2 separate regions of the Homo sapiens genome follow, and region 2 is linked to region 1. Evidence: promoter capture Hi-C in 16 types of primary human blood cells and fetal thymus (Javierre and others, 2016). All regions are on one chromosome and are shown on one strand. Each heading gives the region's core, a stretch centred on a gene start or on the middle of the fragment in contact. The rest is flanking DNA. Distances are from core to core; before and after follow the strand shown.

Region 1 (4,669 bases), core at 1,008-3,507:
GAGCAACACCCTATCTCAAAAAAAACAAAAATGTCTATTCATGATCTCTCTATATTAAGGAAATACAACATAGGTTATCTCAGTGAAAACAATTCCAATTCCCAATTAAATTCTGGCATACAAGCCAACTAGCTTGAAAGAAACTTAACTGTTTGATTCACTTTGTTTTTAGCCTATATATCACAAAACTGAGGAGTGAAGGTACCTAATTTGTTAATATTTTATTTTTTTAAAACACCTTCACTGAGACATAATTTACATACCACATAATTCACTCATTTAAAGTATATTTTAGTATATTCAGAGGGTTGTGCAACCATCACCACAGTCTAATTTAGAACACTTTCATCTCCTCTAAAAGAAATCTTGTACCCATTAGTGGTTACTCCCCACTACCCTCCACGTCCCTAGCCACCTCCCATGCCTAAGTGACCATGAATCTACTTTCTGTCTCTATGAATTTACCTATCCTGACATTTCATGTAAGTGGAATCATACTATATATGTAGAGTCTTTTGTGTGTGGCTTCTTTCACTGGCCTAGGGTTTTCTAGGGTCATCCATGTGGTAGCATCAGCAGTTCATTCCTTTTCATGCTAAATAATTTTCCCTTGTATGGGTATACCACATTTTACCTATCCATTCATTAGTTGGTGGACATCTGGGGTGTTTCCACCCTTTGGCTATTATGAATAATGCTACTATGAACATTTATATACACGTTTTCGTGCGAACATGTTTTCATTCTTGGGTATGTACCTGGGAGTGGAATCGCTGGTTCATATTGTAATTCTTTGTTTCACTTTTTGAGGAGCTGCCAGACAGCTTTCTAAAGCAGCTGTACCATTTTGCAGTCCGTCCCACCAGCAATGAATCTGGAGTTCCAATTGCTCCGTATACATGCCAATGCTTGTTATTGCCTGTCTTTTTGCTTGTAGACATCCAAGTGGATGTGAAGTTAAACATCATTGCTGTTTCAATTTGAACTTCTCTCACAACTAATGATGTTGAGCATCTTTTCATGTGCTTATTGGCCATTTATATGTCTCCTGGGAAGAAATGTTTATTTAAATCCTTTGCCCATTTAAAAAAAATTTGCTATCTCTTCATAACAAAGTTGTAAGAGTTCTTTTAATGTTTTGCATTCAAGTCCCTTATGATTTGCAAATAATTCTGTGAGTTTGTTCAGTTTCTTCGTGGTATCATGGGAAGAATATTGTGTTATATTGTGTTATATCTGTATCTATTGTATGTGTAGAGCAAAACTCTCCTCTTTTGAGTGAAACATCCGAGGGAATGTTTTTCTGCCTGCCTAACTTTCCAATCGAGTATTAGAGAATACTTCTTATTTCTTTGGCATTATAAAAGATGGATTTGAAGCCTGAGCTTTTCGATGGATTATTTGCTTCCAGTCCTCACTCTCATGTCTGAATATAGGCATGTATTATTCTATCTACACATCGCTGAGATTTGTGAGTACACCTGAGGTACTCTGATGTGGATAGCGACATGCTTTCTTGCACCAGTTCTCCCAAATAACAGCACTTAGGATACGTTCACTATTCACTAGCCCCTGTTCATTCATTCTGAGAGCCCCTTCCTCTCAGAGTTCCTCTCAGTGGTACAGTGGTTTATTGCTGGTACATTAAAAATTCCATATAAAAATCATTAGAGCTTTTTTTTTTTAGATGGACAGAATAAAAATAAAATAAATGGCAAGGTACTTTTGCTCAAAGGAAAAGACGTTCTTCCATTTGACTTTAAATCACAGTAAAGATGACGTCATCACAAAAGCCCAAGTTTTGAGATGATGTTTTCTCCAGGGAAAATCGAACCAAGAACGATGAGGACTTCTTGCCTCTTAGGACACAAAAGCGTGGGCTAATAGAGGATTCATTTCCAAAGGGTCATTTGGAAGAAGAGAGCACTCATCTTCCTCCCATTTTTCCCTGTTGATTACACCTGTACACATGTTTACTCCCAAACCGTTTCAAATCCACATACATTCTTGCAGGCTGACTGGTTCCTACTGCTCAGAAATCCCCCTCCTTTTTTGGCAGAGGCTCCCGCATTCATGTGACTCCTGCACACTGCAGCTCAATGAAATCCTCTGAAAGAGCTGCCAGCTCACCCAATTTTCCATGAATTAGGTCCTGACACTTCAATGAGGGGAAAGACAATGTCTGAATCTCTGCCAGCCCTGGCTCCCGGCCTAGTCCGTGTCACGGAACTTCTACCAGCTACCCTCAGACACAGCACTTCATACTTTTCAGACCACCAAACAAACAGACCCTTGAATACTTTCAATGTTGGTTGGGGTTATGGCTGCCAGGATGTTTTCCCAGCCTCTGGCACCCAATGGCTCCAGACTGTGCCGAGAAAGTTTTTGTTGTTGTTATTTTGTTTTGTTTTTATTTTTATGAATGGCTTTGGTAGAAAACGCAGACTGAAGCATAATACTACCACCATTCATAAAAAGGGAAAGGAAACAAACTGCTGTCTGGAAAGCTTTTTGGACGCCAAACAAACTGTAAGTCTCTTATCTTCCTTGGGGCATCTCTCGGCTCAGAACTAAGTGTTGATTCTTAGAAACCAGTTGCTCCTCGGGGTTCTTGGCATTAAAAACACGACTGGCCACTAGAGTTTTATAAGACCTGAATAACATCAATGATACATATTAGTCTTCTGTGTTGTTAACAGTAAATTTTCATGCACCTTAATAAATGAGTAATATTTTGCACATGCATTTCCTATATGAAAGCTAGAATCCTTTATATTTTTAACATCTGCCCCTTTGTTACTGGGAGGGTCCAGGCCTTACTGTTTTCATTTTCTCACAGGGAAACCAAGGCATAGGGAATTTAAATAATCGTCTGAGATCTTTTTCTAAAACCAAAACAACCCGAGTCTACTGATTCTCTTAATCCCTGATATAATGCTCTGAAGAAACCCAGTCTGTTCCTTGAAAAAAAGAAAAAAGAAAAAAGTCAAATCGAGATCCAATCCAGGAGAAGCTGTACTTCCCGGCTTTGATTTTCATCTCCAGATTGTTCAGCAGGGCCTAGTTCTGATTCCTCCAGGTTGCTGATGAAAAGTGAATCGCAGGGGACAAGAGTCAGACCTGCAAAGTCCAGCTGCCTCACCTCACTTGGAGATTCTTCCTTCATTATCAGTTGTGGAGGGGCTGAGTCCCTCTTAAAGGTGTGTACATCATAATGACTGTTCAGTGAACAGATAGCAAAGCCTTTCAAGTTGTTTAGACAAATCTGATGATCCAATTCTAAGTGTGCACATAGGGAGTTTATACAGTTTAGGCACTTGGTCAACTTGGCATGCAAACCCTTCAATGCACTGAGATTTTGAGTTCATTATGTTGAGACTATTGCACCTTTCAAAAAGCTTGTAATGAAAATCCTCATTCCATGGTTGCATTGAAACTTCTAAAATACAATGGGGTGAAAGAGAGCTTCCTCCCAGAACAAAACATCAATAGCAGCATTGACAAAATCACCAAAGGACTTTGAAGAAATTTTTTGGATTAACAGATGTTAAAACGAAACTGTGGCCGGGTGTGGTGGCTCATGCCGGTAATCTCAGCACTTTGAGAGGATTGTTTGAGCTCACGAGTTCGAGACCAGCTTGGGCAACCTAGCAAGACTTCATCTCTATTAAAAATAATTAGCCAGGTATAGTGGCGCATGCCTGTACTCCCAGCTACTCGGGAGACTGAGGTGGGAGGATTGCTTGAGCCTAGGAGGTTATGGCTGCAGTAAGCTATGATCACACCATTGCACTCCCGCCTGGGTGACGGAGCAAGACTCTGCCTCAAAAAAAAAAAAAAGTGGTGAGAATTCAAAGACCCCATGAGTTGAACATACCACGTGAAGCTTAAAAGGGCTCTTTCTAACCACATGGATTTCAGTGAGTAGTTCTCTGCAGTCTAGCCCTTAGAATGGACTAGCTCAGCCACAATTGAAAGTATAATGCTTAAGCAAATAAATATCATTGTTAAAGTATATACAAATAGCTTAGGGTACAACATGCTAAGAAACTGTAGAAGATAAGCAAAAGGAAAGGACATATTTTTGGATTTCTGAGGTCATACAGCAAATGAACATTTCTCCAAATGGAAGAAAAAAAGTTACTGAATTTTTAAAATCCACAGAGTATTTGGATTTTTAAGATTTTGTAGAGAGACACTTGTGTAGGAAATGGTCTGCCATTCCACCTATTTCAGAATAATTAAGAAGTTCCTCAGCCCTCCTAAGAATACAATCTATGGTTCCAGGAAGTCTAGGTATTTTAAAGCTGATACTCAGACAGCTAAGCCACTCCTTCTGGTAGGTATTGAAAGAAAATCCTTGCTAACAAAGGACCCAGACATTAGTAGTTCATTTTAGTACTAATCTAAACATTAAATAAAAAGAGGCTTGAATTGAGCTTACAAACTTAATTTTTAAAAAAAAATTAGGCACAATGTATGGTAAAGCAAACATGATTATTATGTAAAGGGTCTCAAGTTGACCTTAGAAAGAAAGAAGCCCTTCACATGGCTGTCTGTGCAGATGAGTCTCTGGGTTTAATGTAAGCAGCAGAATTTTAATATAATTAGATCCTTTGCTTCTTGCCAGGCAGTAGTAGGTGATTTTGCCCACTTTGTTTTAAAATCA
Region 2 (4,669 bases), core at 905-3,404, 390 kb after region 1:
GAAGTGCATACCTGGGAAGGGCTCTGTGGAGGTGATTTAGGGACTTTGCAGGGAGCCCAAGGGGCCTCCTAGCATATGTGGTCCCAGACATCTACTTCCCACTTTGCCAGAGGAAACGCCAGAGGTATCTGTTTTATATATTGGCCATCTAAGTAAGGTTTTAACAAAAGGGCTCTGCAGCCATGAACATTTGAAAATCATGGATCTGATCCAACCTTGTAATTTTAGAGTTGATGACATTTCGAAGTAGAAGACTAAGTGTCTTAACCAATATCACACAGCTAGTTAGTGGCAGAGCCAGGAGTAACCGAAGGTCAACTCCCAGTCCTGAACAGTTTTCCATCTAGCAGACTGCCTTTTGCTGAAAGATGAAGCTAAAATCGCAGATGTTGCAGGGTCAAGATTAACACCTTACAAATCAGATGTACAAAAACAGTAGCTTATTTATTTTCTGTAACTGATTTAATCTTGCTCTGAAGCTCTCATTTCCACCAATGGTGGAAATAAACTTGCTAAGTTACAGTCTCTTCCAGGGTGGAAAAAAAGGGGAAGAGGGCTTCCTTCACTCAATTTGATGCTGAAACTCCCTATCAGAGTCTATTCTCTACTTTCTATAGATCTCCCCTTCCCTCCTTCTTCCCAAAACAGTGTGTAAGTAATGGAGAAATTATGGATCTGTTAGTCTCAATCTCCTTTCTCAATGAAAGGAGTCTCAATCCAGACCCCAAGACAGGGTTCCTGGACCTCAAGCAAGAGAGAATTCAGGGTGAGTCCATACAGTAAAGTGAAAGCAAGTTTATTAAGAAAGTAAAGGAACAAAAGAATGGCTACTCTATAGCCAGAGCAGTGGTATAAGCTGCTCAATTGAGTATACTTAGAGTTATTTCTTGATTATTTGATAAACAAGGGGTGGATTATTCATGAGTTTTCCAGGAAGGGGTCAGAGATTTCCCGAAACTGAGGGTCCCTCTCCTTTTTAGATTATGTAGGGTAAATTCCGAATGTTACCATGGCATTCGTAAACTGTCCTGGTGCTGGTGAGAGTGTCTTTTAGCAAGCTAGTGCATTATAGTTAACGTATAATGAGTAATGTAGATGACCAGAGGTCACTTTCATCACCATCTTGGTTTTAGTGGGATTTGGCCGGCTTCTTTACCACATCCTGTTTTATCAGCAGGGTCTTTGCGACCTGTGTCTTGTGCCAACCTCCTATCTCATCCTGTGACTAAGAATGCCTGACCTCCTGGGAATGCAGCCCAGTAGGTCTCAGCCTTATTTTACCCAGCCTCTATTCAAGATGGAGTCGCTCTGGTTCAAATGCCTCTGTCAGGTTCTCATGGAGGCAGGAGGAGGGCTGTATAAACTTGCAGGTTGTCTTTCTCTGCAGGTTGCTGCTGCTGTGCAGCTGAGGTACAATCCCTCTCGTTCTTTGGGCATCAGCCTCTGTTCTCCCTACATGTGCTGTGTAAGTGTCTGCAGCTGGTGTAGTTTGTGGTCTGTTCTCTCAGCATGGGCAATCTATGGTGATAGCTCCCATGAAGCTAGGCCATCTCTCCCTGGGAAAATTCTAACCAGGGTACTGGTGCCATGGGAAGGCCATCTTCAGAACAGAACTGGCTGCTGTTTAGGGAAGCTTCTCTTTATCAGGCACCTAAGCAACTGAAAATTAACTAGAATGCTATACATTCTTTCCTTAACGTTTTCTTGAAGTAGAAAATTAAAAGCAGACAAATAATTATTTTGAAAAGTAAGTCTTCTTGTTAAAGACAGCAGAGTAAAAACACTTATGCCATTCCCCTTTCTAAAAATCCAATGAAAACAATAAATGGAACAAAAATAGAAGGACAAAACATCTCCCTATCATGAATGAAGTGAGGAAACAGCTATAATCCCAAACCACAAACTCTGAAGTATACCTGCCAAATATTGTGAGCATGGATGGAGATAAGGGAGACCCTTAATGCTGACAAATGCCTCTTTGGATCTCAAACAGGATATATATTTCTCTAAAATTAAGTGAGGTAAGCTAGAAAAGTCAAGCCAATTGTTCCTTGATTAGAGAGAAGGGCTTGAAGGGCGTGAATAAGACCAGGGGAGAACAGAGACTGTCCTTAGACATATACTGAGTTTGAGATGCTACAGATTATTCAATTTCTCCTTTGTACTTTTCTGAATTTTTTGAGTTTTTTTATGAATACTTTTTGCTGAAACAGTAGTCATTTTAATAATCACTAAATGCTAAACAACCACCCCCACCCCCCACCAAAAAAAGTAACAACTGGTTTTGTTAACTGTGCAGAAGGGTTAAAGGATAATAGCTACATTGGAAATCTTAGAGAAGGATAGCCTTTATTATAAAACCCTAATAGGCTATAGAGTATAAAAAGATAAATCAGACCAGAGTCTGGAAGAAGGGGGAAGAATAAACTGAAGGCCAAATTGTTCTGCATTTAAATATGGGCTCAAGTAGTAGGACTTGGCTGAGTTTATTACTCTCAAGAGTCAAACAGAAAGAGAAGGAGTGAGGAAACCAAGAAACAGTGGGGGTCAGGCTGGGAGTAGAGGAAGTACTAGAACTTGGGTTGGCAGAGTTCATCTTTGTAGTTCAAGAAGTCTGAAGTTTTACAGTTATTTGCATCACCTGGATAGAAGACTTTCTTGGCTTGCAAAGCTTTCTGCCACATCCATAAAGATCTTGTTTTTATTTACTTGTTTGTTTTCTTTATTTCTTTATTTCATGAGGCTGAATAGAAATGAAGGAAACCAAAGGAATAAGACAGCACTTGTGGGTAGGAAATGATAACAGAAGTCTGAGCTCTGAATCAGAGCTAATTAGGGAAGCCATGAGCAACTCCCATCTTCACCCCCAACCCATCCTTTCCCTATTCCAGACTCCTTCCCTATACTGCAAAGGGGTTTGAGCCACTTGAATCTGCACTTCAGCTGACCTCTAGATTAACTGCACTATAAGCTTTAGGTTGGGAAGGGGAAGGACAGCGCCGTTTTGACTGAGTCCAGCTAAAGGTCATTGCAAGGAACAGAGAAGAAGAGGCAGTGCAGGGAGTTCAACATGGCTTCTGTTCACAGGTGACCACTCTCCAGGTGAGGCCACCTGTATCCTATCTACCCACCCACTCTCACCCTTTCTAGACCACTTCCTTTCTCCCAGTTCATCAATCACAAGTAAAAAAAAAAAAAAAAATCCAACATGTGAGAAAGAGGATAACACAATGATTCTTACTGGTATTTGGAGACCTCCAAGGTCTCAGTCCTTGCTAAGATACCTGAGCAATGTTTTAAGTCCAGAACACATTCCTTCTCATTTTGAGGTCTTTGTTCTTCTGACAAATCTTCTGTCTTAAATAGTAACGGTAATGCTAATTGTTAAAAAAAACTATTGCTACTAAAAGCCCAAAGCTCAAAGACAAGCTATCTCCCAACACCCACTCCCCATTATGCAAATGTAAAGAAGAAACGGGATAACCAAGAATTTTTTTTAAACTTTCAGTTTAAAACATAGAAGAATGGGAAACACTCAACAGTTGTGAATGAGTAGCAAATAGCAAACCTTGGTGTATAGGGATAGCAATGAGACTTACTTGGTTGGTGATTCTAGAAGCTGCTCTCTGGGATGATCTCCTTGTTAATGATCCCCTATGGATTCATCTTTGATGGGCAATAAAGAATTGCTTTCTTGAGGGACGCACAGCTTCCTCAGACCTCTTCATGCTACTGCAGGTCTAGAGGCCTGGAATTTGTTTTAAAAATAAAAATTATACACTGTTTTCAGGCAGGCTTGAGGTGTCTTTGACAATGTGGTTTCCTAAAAATCTTAGTTGGCTTCTGTTCTATTTGCTTCCTATCAATTGCATATGTGTGTAGACACAGCCAAAGATGCTGTGTCCACAGTCTTTAAACCTGAAGATCCTTCCCCCTTTACTTCCAACATCACTGATCTATCCTTTTCTAGTTCTTCTTCAATGGCTACTTCTTTGAGACAATTTGAAATCATAGCTTCTCATGGGAAACACTCCCCTGAATCTGAACTTTTTTAATGGGTCCAAGGTGTCTTGCAGATAATCCTTAAATAATGGGAGAGGGCCCAGTGGGCATGCCTTACAAAATGATAGTAATAATAATAATGATAATAATAATGGGAGAAGGACTTAGGGTCTTTCTGGCTAAGGTTGCTACTTTGAAGTCACTATTTCTGCTTCTTTGGTGCAGATAAAGAAGCAGTTGGCCTTGTCAGTGTTTCAGTGCTCCATGTCATGGAGCTTCTCTCCATATTGGGTTGTGGCCACAGTCAAATAACACCTGCCTTGGGAAGGTAGTATTGGCAAGTTGTACCATATATAGTACTTTGTACATAACAAAATACATTTTGCCTTCTGTCTTCCTGCCTGCATTGAGCCCAATTCTGCATTTTTGATTCTTATAGATTTTAGATTGACCCTACTTTCATGGATGAAATTAATTAGTCTCTTTTCTTTCTTCCTTTTTTTCCCCTTTAGTTGCAAACTATAGAAACCATTTGGGCTGGTTTGAGCATAAAAGGAAATTACTGGGAGTTATTAGGTGCTCGGTGATTCATTGGGAGGTCTGGCAAAAAAGAAGCTCAAGGCTAAGCTCATAGGAACACAGCCCGGCATCTCACACAGAAGTGGCT

What was found. The method cuts DNA at HindIII sites, captures the fragments that hold promoters and counts their contacts. A CHiCAGO score of 5 or more calls a contact.
Region 2: a contact is called between a fragment that was not itself captured here and the fragment with the promoter of HMGA2-AS2 in region 1, in 1 of 17 cell types (M1 macrophages). The highest score is 5.2, in M1 macrophages.

Annotation. Positions count from the first base shown.
Region 1 is chr12:65,946,295-65,950,963 of GRCh38, reverse strand. HMGA2-AS2 (HMGA2 antisense RNA 2) reads left to right here and starts at 2,257. Exons shown (of 4, transcript NR_199060.1): 1 at 2,257-2,529; 2 at 2,840-3,200. All of the region lies in intron 3 of HMGA2 (high mobility group AT-hook 2), which reads right to left. The HindIII fragment of the contact is 7,270 bases long and covers 1-2,509 here.
Region 2 is chr12:65,558,660-65,563,328 of GRCh38, reverse strand. All of the region lies in intron 2 of MSRB3-AS1 (MSRB3 antisense RNA 1), which reads left to right. It overlaps LOC105369808 (a long non-coding RNA gene), which reads right to left. Exons shown (of 4, transcript XR_945035.3): 2 at 4,658-4,669; 3 at 3,600-3,748; 4 at 2,331-3,357. Among named protein-coding and RNA genes, the nearest start is that of LINC02454, 42 kb to the left of the region's middle. The HindIII fragment of the contact is 1,038 bases long and covers 1,636-2,673 here.